Regions from separate parts of the Homo sapiens genome. Here region 2 is linked to region 1. The links are contacts of gene promoters, found by promoter capture Hi-C in blood cells and fetal thymus (Javierre and others, 2016). All regions are on one chromosome and are shown on one strand. Each heading gives the region's core, a stretch centred on a gene start or on the middle of the fragment in contact. The rest is flanking DNA. Distances are from core to core; before and after follow the strand shown.

Region 1 (4,598 bases), core at 1,316-3,815:
AAGATGGTGGCCCCTCCTCTGCTCCCACGGTGCCTCAGGCCACCTGCAGGGCTGAGCAGGGACCCCCTGAAAAACCCGCACCCTGACACAACCTACGTTTTCTGGACGAGGCTCTCCTGCTCCTTGGCCAGAGACTTCTGTCCCGTAACCAGGGAGACTCTCAGAGGTGTGGCATCTGTGTAGATGTTGAAAACTTTGCTCACCTGCAGGAGAAGTCTGTCACTGGCCTGGAGGTAGCTGGTGTCCACCTACTGCAGCAAAAAGGACCCCAGATCTAATCTGGGTCCCCCAGGGGCTGATCGCTGTGCACTCAGCAGGGAAGCTGAGGCGGGCGGTGCCACGCTCCAGGTCTAGGGTCCACATACCTGCTGGGCCAGCTCCTTGGTGGGCAGCACAACCAGGGCACGGATGTGGCAGACCACTCTCGAAAGCAGGGCCTGAGGGGGAAGGAGCGCCTGCGTCAGCAAGGCTGTTACCTGTCCTCTGCACACCCGCTGTAGAGAAAGGGGACCCTCACACAGACCTGCACCACAGGGATGACGAAGGCCAGTGTCTTCCCACTGCCTGTTGGGGCAGAAACACAGAGGTCGCTAGGCCGGTAGCCACCTCTGCCCACCAGAAACCCACAGGCTGCGCTCTCCAGGAGGGCAGGAATCACAGCTGCCTGGACTGGATGAGGAAAGGCGAGAGAGAAGTCGTGTTTACGCCTAGGCCTAGGCCTGCCGCTTCCCTGCCTGTGACCTCTGGGCTGGGCTGCTCTGCTGGAGGCCTGGGAACCGCTCCCCAGAGGGATGGCACCAAGGCCCAGAGGAACGCCAGCCTCAGGAGACCCAAGTGGGAACCATGAGCTTGAGAGTGCTGAGACCACACTTGGCACCGATGTGGCAGGGACGCCTGACCCACGGCCACTCACAGCCTTGTGTGTGGGTGCCCAGGGAGGTGTTCCCTCAGCTGCCTGCCCGGGGCTGGGGCACCTGGAAAGTAGGACGAGATGCCGTGTGCCCGCAGCTGCTTCTGCAGGTCAGGATGGACGTCAGGGATGTCCTCGATAGGAACCAGGTCTTCGGTGACATTCCTTCTGACACAGTTAGGCTCAGCCAGCCACCTTGGCAGGAAAGGCTGGACCTGCCATCAAAAAGAAAGAGAGGCCAGGTGAGCGCTTTCCAGGCTCTCGCGCAGAAGCCCACGGTGGAAAAAGCTAGGGGAGGGAGGCTGGGGAAACCTCTGTCGTCTTCAGCTCCTTCTCAGCCCCAGGATGCGCTTTCCATACAGCCTTCAGAAGTTAAACAGTAAAAGCAGATGCCACTCCCTGAGCAAACTCACTCTGTAGCCTCCCATCAACCCACAGTGGCACCCACCCTCCCGCAGCCAGGAGGTCCTGTGACCTGGCGCTCGCCTGCCCCAGCCACGCCGGCGTCCCTGCCTCGAGGCCTCTGCCTGGCACCCCCAACCCCCAACCTTGACCTGGCTTCAAGTCTTTGCATCCCAACTCAAAGAGAACCTCCTCCACCTGCCCTACCTAAGGTGCCCGAGCACTCTGTCAAACTTCTCGCTTTCTTCACCTGTCTCGCCGGAAATCTCTTTACCGAAAACCACACGTGCTAAGCAAAAACACCAACGGTCAGGAGCTTGCAGAACGGCCTCTGACTTACTCCTGAGGCGGTGAGCGCACAGCAGGAAACCCCGCACGTTCACGCAAACACATCTTGCAGAACTGGCGCGGCGCGGCGGGAGGACAGGGGCAAGCCTAGCAGAGGAAACGGGAGCTCTGCACGTGCAGGATCCAGACCCCTAGGCGATGAAACTGCAGACCTGGCAGCGAGGCGCGGCTGTGACCCGGGAACATTCGCTGAACGAAATCTTCCGGGGCGACCGCCGCACTTAAGAATCCGCGCAGCCTACCCTCTCACGCCGACCACCCTCCCGCCCGCCGAGGCTCACCTTCGGCGCCTTCCTCTTCCCGAACCCCCCCAGCACCAGGCCGGGGACCAGGGGTCCGGCCGCCTCCTCCAGGGCCGGTCCATCTGGGGCCGCCTCGGCGCTGGCGCTGGTGCTGCGCTCCCCCGGCGCCTCCTCGCTGCTCCCTGCGCTGGGCTCCCCTGGCGCCTCCTCGCTGCTCCCTGCGCTGGGCTCCCCTGGCGCCTCCTCGTTGCTTTCTGCGAGGCAGACACCCACCCGGCAGCGCGTCAGCACCGAGTCGCCGGCGCCCCAGAGGGAGCCCGCTCGCCCCGCGGCCCACCTGCGCCCGCGTCCTCGCCGTCCGCCTTCCGTCGCTTTCCCTGCGGCGCCTCCGGGCTCCCCGGCTCCGCGTCGTTCACCCGCCGCCGCCGCCGGGGCCGCCGTCGCCTCCTGGTCGCCGGCTCGGTCGATGCAGCCGCCTCGGTCTGCGCGGGCTCCCGCTGCTGCTGCCGTTCGCGGGCCCGGCTCTGCAGCCGCTCGAGCAGCGCGCGGGCCCTGCCGTGCGCCCCGGCCTCCGCGCCCTCCGGCCCCGCCGCAGCTGCCGCATCGGGGCCCGGGTACCGCGCGACGTAGAACAGCGCCATGGCCAGCCGCACGCCTGGGACTCGGGCGTGGCGCGCTGCGATGACGTCGGCGGCACGCCTGCGACTCGGGCTCCGCGCAAAAGATGGGGTTGGGGTACGGCGCGTAGAGATGACGTCGGGTTCTACGCGCAGTGGTGACGTCACGGGAGCGCCGGCGGCTGAGAATCCGCGTTGTTCCGTGTTGGGGGCGGCATGGAGCGGGAGCCGGGCGCCGCGGGAGTTCGCCGGGCTCTGGGCCGCCGGCTGGAGGCGGTGCTGGCGAGCCGCAGTGAGGCCAACGCCGTGTTCGACATCCTGGCCGTGCTGCAGGTGGGCCTGGCGGCGTCGCAGGGCCGGAGTCGCGGCACGGGAGCGGGACTTGAATGGGGGGCTGCGGCGGCAGGTCCCCAGGAGGTTCCGAGACGGCGTTGGGGGGTCAGGGTGGGAGGCGTGTGGGTCACGGGTCGGGGGTGACGGGGCTGGCGTCCCGAGGGGGAAGGGAACGGGTTGGGGGCAGCCTAGGCAGGGGCGAAGGTGACAGTTGGCGGCCGGGCACCCTGCCGCCGCCTCTCCTGCAGTCTGAGGACCAGGAGGAGATCCAGGAAGCAGTCCGCACGTGCAGCCGTCTTTTCGGGGCCTTGCTGGAGCGGGGAGAGCTGTTTGTGGGCCAGCTGCCCTCTGAGGAGATGGTCATGACAGGTGAGCCCTGGAGGGCCCCGGGGCTGCTCTTCTCTTTCCGTGGGTCGGAGGGAGGCTTTGTCACCATGGGATGAGCGCCCCCAACCCTGGCACAGGCCGTGCAGGCTGGTGGGAGGACGCACCAAGCCCACCGTGGAAGATGGATGGTGGCGTTGGGGCAGGGGTGACATGGGTGCCCTGCAGCTGAGTGTAGATGAACACTGGACAAGGTACGACTTTTTGTGTGCTTTGCACCCCTTTTGTAATTTGATGTTGACTGATCCTGACACGGTCGCTTAAACTCGGAGCTTCCTTTATGTCCCCATCCTGGGGACGTCAGGTCTTGGAGTAAAGAGAGGGGATGTGGATCCTGCTCCTGGCAGCTTGGCTGGGGCAGTCCTGGGGTAGGAGGTGCTCTTCCTGTTTGCAGGGCTCAGGGAATGTGCTGGTCTCAGCACAGGTCTGGGGGCCTTAGCGACCTGTTTCCACCTGCGGAGGCTGAGTAGAAGACAATGGGAGGGTGGAGCCAGGCCTGAGATTTTGGGCTGGGCCCAGGGTGGCGTATGTGGGCCTCACGTGGGCTGACCACCCTAACCTGTCTGCAGGGTCCCAGGGAGCCACACGGAAGTACAAGGTGTGGATGAGACACCGCTATCACAGCTGCTGCAATCGCTTGGGAGAGCTCCTGGGCCACCCCTCCTTTCAGGTCAAGGTGGGTCATTGGGCTGGCCTCATCCTTGTCCATCCCCTGCACCCCAACTCCCAGGTTATCCACAAAGCAGAGGTCTGGGGCTCCCACAATTGTCCAGGCAAAGCTGCTTCCTTCATGGGAGCATCACCCTGTGGGTGTTCAGTCCCATTCAGAAACATGGCTATCGAGTCCTGTAGTGAATATTGAAGACGCAGAATCCGTGTTCATTTCCAGTGGCATCCACGGGGATCTCTGTGTTTGCATAGAGCACGCACACCAAGCCTCGTGCCAGTCCACAGATGTGTTTGCTCAGATCACACTGTGGTCTGCAGCCATGGGAATGCATTATGAGCTTTCTTAAAATCTGTAGTGAGGAATAACTGAGGCACAGTTTACCGTTTAAAGCTGAGAAGTTAGCATCTGTTACTGTGTTGTGCAGTGGTTGCCGCTATCCCAGAACATCTTTATCGCCCCGAAAAGAAATCCTGTACCAGTTACCATCGCTTCCATATCCCGCCCCTTTCCACCCCCAGCCCCAGGCAGCCACTCCTGGATCAGTGGTTACTTCCTGGATCAATGGGTTTGCTTTTTTTAGACGCTCCTCATAAGGGGGATCATACGGTATGTGGCTTCTTCCACTCATCGGCGTGTTCGAAGTTCGTTCTCTTTGTGGCTGAGTAGCAGCGCGTCGTATAGCACAGCACGTA
Region 2 (4,598 bases), core at 1,405-3,904, 510 kb after region 1:
ACTGGACTCCAGCCGGGCAACAGGAGAGAAACTCCATCTCAAAACAAACAAACAAACAAATAAAAATAAATAAATTTAAAAAATACTCTGTAGAGAAGGGGTTTTGCCACGTTGCCCAGGCTGGTCTCGAATGCCTGAGCTCAAGCAATCCACCAGCCTCAGCCTCCCAAATTGCTGGGATTACAGATATGCAGCACTGCGCCTGGCCAACACAGTTTCATTATAGTTTCTGAGAAGAAAAAAAATCTGTTTCATTATACATCATCTTACTTAGTCATTTCACTTAAAATTGCAGTTTCTAAGGACCTATCAACAACATAAAGTGAGGGCCTACCGTGTACCTTAACATACCTAACGTGTGTGTGTTGGGCGGGATTTGGCTACGGTTGATGTTAAAACATTAAACACTGAGGCAGGAGGATTGCTTGAGCCCAAGAGTACAAGGCTGCAGTGAGGCAAGATCATGCCACTGCACTCCAGCCTGGGTGATGGAGTGAGAGACCTTCTCAAAAACAGAAACAAAAAAGTTAAACAAAAATCCTCTAATCCATAGTAATACTTTAAAAAGAGAGGAAAAATGAAAGGAATAAACCCATTTTGCCATGCCCTACCTTGAAAATTAAAAATAATTTAAAGGGAAAAAGCATTTATCTTGCTTAAAAAAAAAAAAAGCGTATTATCCCTCTCGTATCTTGCTTTTTAAGGAATAGAGTTCATTTCTACCTGATCTGCACAAAGCTCTTCGTTATAAAGGAAACAGCTAATACACACAGAGGAACAGAATCTGAAGATATCATCCTGGAGCCCCATGGACCCCACGAGACATGGATGCTGACACCATCCAGTCAAACGTTGAGGACAGAATATTCACACAGCGCCAGAACCTCCCTCGAGATGAGCTGATAGTCATAAAGGGAAACATCCCAAAAGTTAGGGCACTTCCACACGGCCACAGCACCACAGCACCACGCATCGAAAGGAAGGTGTAGAAACCCCACAGTCCCACCTGTTCTCTGTGGTCTCGATGCCTCTGCGTCCGCTTTCCTCTTGTTATCCGCCCACCTCGGTCTCCCAAAGTGCGGGGATTACAGGTGTGAACCACCACACCTGGCTCTGCGTCTACTTTCTATATGCACATTCTACTGAATCACCTGGCTGGAATCGAGTTTCACCTTCTCCAGAAAACCTCCTTGTGTAGGTACAAATATGCACACCTCATCTCCCCAACTACGTGTCACTTCTTACGTGATTCACAGCATCCAGTCAAGAAATGTGCTGAGCCGACACATTAACAACGGGGAGTTCGGGTGGAGATGCCATCTAAGAGCCTCAGCGCACTCATGGCCACATGAAAACCCTCGCAGTTTCTGCAGGTGGAAGAAGCCCAGCACAAAGACCCACCTACTGTAGGGTTCCATTTACATCAAATGCCCAAACAGGCAAACCCAGAGACAGGAAGTGGATCAGTGGCTACTGAGGGCTGGGGGAGGATGGTGACAGGTAAGGGATGCCAGGTTTCTTTTTGGAGTGATGAAAATATCCGAATGGGGGGGTGAGGGGAGGGGGAATATCAGGATAAACAGCTAATGCATGTGGGGCCTAATGCCCAGGTGACGGGGTGATGGGTGCAGCAAACCACCATGGCATGTGCTTACTTATGTAACAAACCTGCACTTTCTGCACATGGATCCCAGAAATCAAAGTAAAATTAAAAAAAAGAAAAAAAAAGAAAATGTCACTATTGACTGGCAATAGTCATGCCACTAAAAGTCATTGAATTCTGCACTTTAAATGGGTGAGTTGGATGGCGTAACTTTACATCCCAATAAAGCTGTTAACAACCAAAGAGCCTACGGAGACAGAGTTCACAATCTCTAACCAATGCCACTTGGTTTGTCCCCGCAACATGGACCTCGCGGGCAGACAAGCTCATCGTGACAAGGACACCAGCAGCTCCATTCCCGGCACTCGCTCTGCCCCAGGCTCGGTGCTCAGCGCTCACACACGTTGTTTTGAGGAATTCCTAGAACATCCCCATAAGGTACTGAGGAGATGGAGGCTGGAGGCCAGGCTAGATCATGGGAAAGCCACCTCAGGCTGCCCAGATGACTGCAGAGGCAGCACCAGCTCCTCCCTACCTTGCGATACGAAGCACCCTCCTCCGCTTTAGCGACTCGCTGGTTCACGTAGAACACACGGGGGATGCTCAGCCTGATGCAGTGCAAGTCACTGCCAACGAGCGCCCACAGCCTGAACAGGCCGGCCTGGCTGGTCTCGCTGATCTGAAAGGCCACACGGACATACAGCACATCACAGGACACACTGGAACCCACAGACGGGGCCACCTTCCAGGTAGCTTGCAGCTCCCAGCACAGGGCCTTAGGCCTCCCTACGATGGGCAGGAAACTCCAGGCCCACTCTAACCCTCCCATCCCAGACCTCAGGGCCCAGCTGGACACCCCCTCCCTGGGCCATCAGCAGAGCCACTGCCCTCCCCTTGGATCAAGGTCTATACCTGCACAATCTGCCACGGAAGGTCCAGGATGCTGCGGGCAGTTCTTCGCAAGAAGCTCCCCAGCCCCGTGGCAGGACCATCCCGGATGGCCCCGGGCCTGAGCACACCCTCTGCCGACTCCAGACGCTGCCTCTTCCTGCGGGCGAGGCGCTGCCGGGCCTGCAGCTGCCACTTCTTCTTGTGGAACCGGAGCCAGACAAGCCATTCCTCCTGGGATGGATGGTGAGCACAGCCAGTGTGCAAGTGGTGAGATGGGAATGCCCGCCATGACTTTCTCACAAGCAGCCTCCCTAGGGGTCAGGACGCATCTCGGGCTCCCTGGGCTGTGCAGACCCCTCAGAGACAGACAGTATCACAGCTGTGTGCCTTACCTGGCTGGTTCCCAGGGCGGGAGGCTGCCCCAAGATTTCCTGCCAGGGCACAGTCGGCGTGAGGTCCTGGGACTCCTCCTGGCTCTCCCAAAGAACTCGCTTCCTCTTCACAGTGACAGGGGCTGCTGGGTGAGGCAGCTTTACGAGGCCGAAGTCCTCCATGTCAGGAGCACTTGGCCTCGGACTGTCTTCTGAGGCCTCGGCCATCGTGACCTGGAAAGACCCAGTGAAGCCTTAAATCTCAGGATCTCGGGCTGCGCAGGGTGGCTCATGCCTGGAATGCCAGCACTTTGGGAGGCCAAGACAGGAGAATTGCTTGGGGCCAGGAGTTTGAGACCAGCCTGGGTAACAGCAAGACCCTGTCTCTACAAAATATATTACAAATTAGCCAGGCGTGGTAGTGCGCCTGTAGTCCCAAGCTACTTGGTAGGCTGAGGCAGGAGGATCACTTGAACCCAGGAGTTGGAGGCTGCGGCGAACTATGATCACACCACTGAACTCCAGCCTGGGCAAGTGAGACCTTGCCTCATAAAAACAAGCAAACAAAAATCTCAGGATCTCATCCCCACAAATTCTACTTCTCGAAATCTAGTATAAGTATATCACCTGAAATGGGATGTTCGTTTACACAAGTTTATTGAACCTTTAATAGTGAAGGCCGGGTGTGGTGGCTCACGCCTGTCATCCCAGCACTTTGAGAGGCTGAGGTGGGCGGATCACTTGAGCCCAGGAGTTTGAGACTAGCCTGGCCAACATGGTGAAACTCCGTCTCTACAAAAAATAGAAAAATTAGCTGGGTGTGGTTGTGTGGGCCTGTGGTCCCAGCTACTTGGGAGGCTGAGGTGGAAGGATCACTTGAGCCTAGGAGGTAGGGGTTGCAGTGAGCCAAGGTTGCGCCACTGCATTCCAGCCTGGGCGAGAGGGTGAGACCCTCTTTCAAAAAAAAAGTGAAAAGATCAAACCGAAAAATAAAACGTCACTCAATACCACCAATAAGTAAATCTTTGCATTTTGCCATGTTTGCTCCAGAATGCTTTTTGTAAGAAAGAAAATATTGCAAATAATGGGTACAGCCCTCTTCTGTCTGCCCCCACACACCTTTAAATTTTTACCACATGTCCACAGACACATGCCACAGCTGTAAGTTTTAACCTAAATAGTAACATGTGGGACACATCTGACTGCAACTTGTTTCCTTTTTTTTTTTTTTTTTTTTTGAGACAGAATCTCACTCTGTTGTCCAGGCTGGAGCGCAATGGCACGATCTCATCTCACTGCAACCTCGCCTCCTGGGTTCAAGCAATTCTGCCTCAGCCTCCCAAGAAGCTAGGATTACAGGCACCTGCCACCAAGCCCGGCTAATTTTTTGTTGTATTTTTAGTAAAGATGGGGTTTCACCATGTTGGCCAGGCTGGTCTCGAACTCCTGACCTCAAGTGATCCACCCACCTCAGCCTTCCAAAGTGTTGAGATTACAGGCGTGAGCCACATGCCTGTCCCTGCAACTTGTTTCTTTATTCAGCCATGTATTTTTGAGACTGACACCGGGTGAAACATGCACATATGGTTCGTTCATTGTAACTGATGTGAAATGATTTATCATATAAACACATCAGCCTACCTACCCATGACTTTGCAAATGAAGAATGACAAGCGCCTACTTTTTCAAAACTACAAACTGTGACTCAATGACCATCTCTGTATGTGTTGCCT

Evidence for each region. Contacts are between HindIII fragments. The CHiCAGO score rates a contact against its expected background, and 5 or more counts as called.
Region 2: a fragment that was not itself captured here is called in contact with the fragment with the promoter of DDX51 in region 1 in 1 of 17 cell types (M0 macrophages); the score reaches 6.0 in M0 macrophages.

What each region holds. Positions count from the first base shown.
Region 1 is chr12:132,141,754-132,146,351 of GRCh38, forward strand. DDX51 (DEAD-box helicase 51) reads right to left here and starts at 2,566. Exons shown (of 15, transcript NM_175066.4): 1 at 2,240-2,566; 2 at 1,942-2,156; 3 at 975-1,125; 4 at 524-669; 5 at 366-437; 6 at 97-203. The coding sequence starts at 2,543. It overlaps NOC4L (nucleolar complex associated 4 homolog), which reads left to right and starts at 2,704. Exons shown (of 15, transcript NM_024078.3): 1 at 2,704-2,852; 2 at 3,101-3,221; 3 at 3,806-3,912. The coding sequence starts at 2,736. RefSeq lists enhancers at 652-1,557, 2,487-2,786 and silencers at 2,157-2,356, 2,427-2,476. The HindIII fragment of the contact is 30,339 bases long and covers 1-4,598 here.
Region 2 is chr12:132,646,791-132,651,388 of GRCh38, forward strand. POLE (DNA polymerase epsilon, catalytic subunit) reads right to left here. Exons shown (of 49, transcript NM_006231.4): 30 at 2,887-3,099; 31 at 2,516-2,725; 32 at 2,139-2,282. Among named protein-coding and RNA genes, the nearest start is that of P2RX2, 30 kb to the left of the region's middle. The HindIII fragment of the contact is 6,987 bases long and covers 1-4,598 here.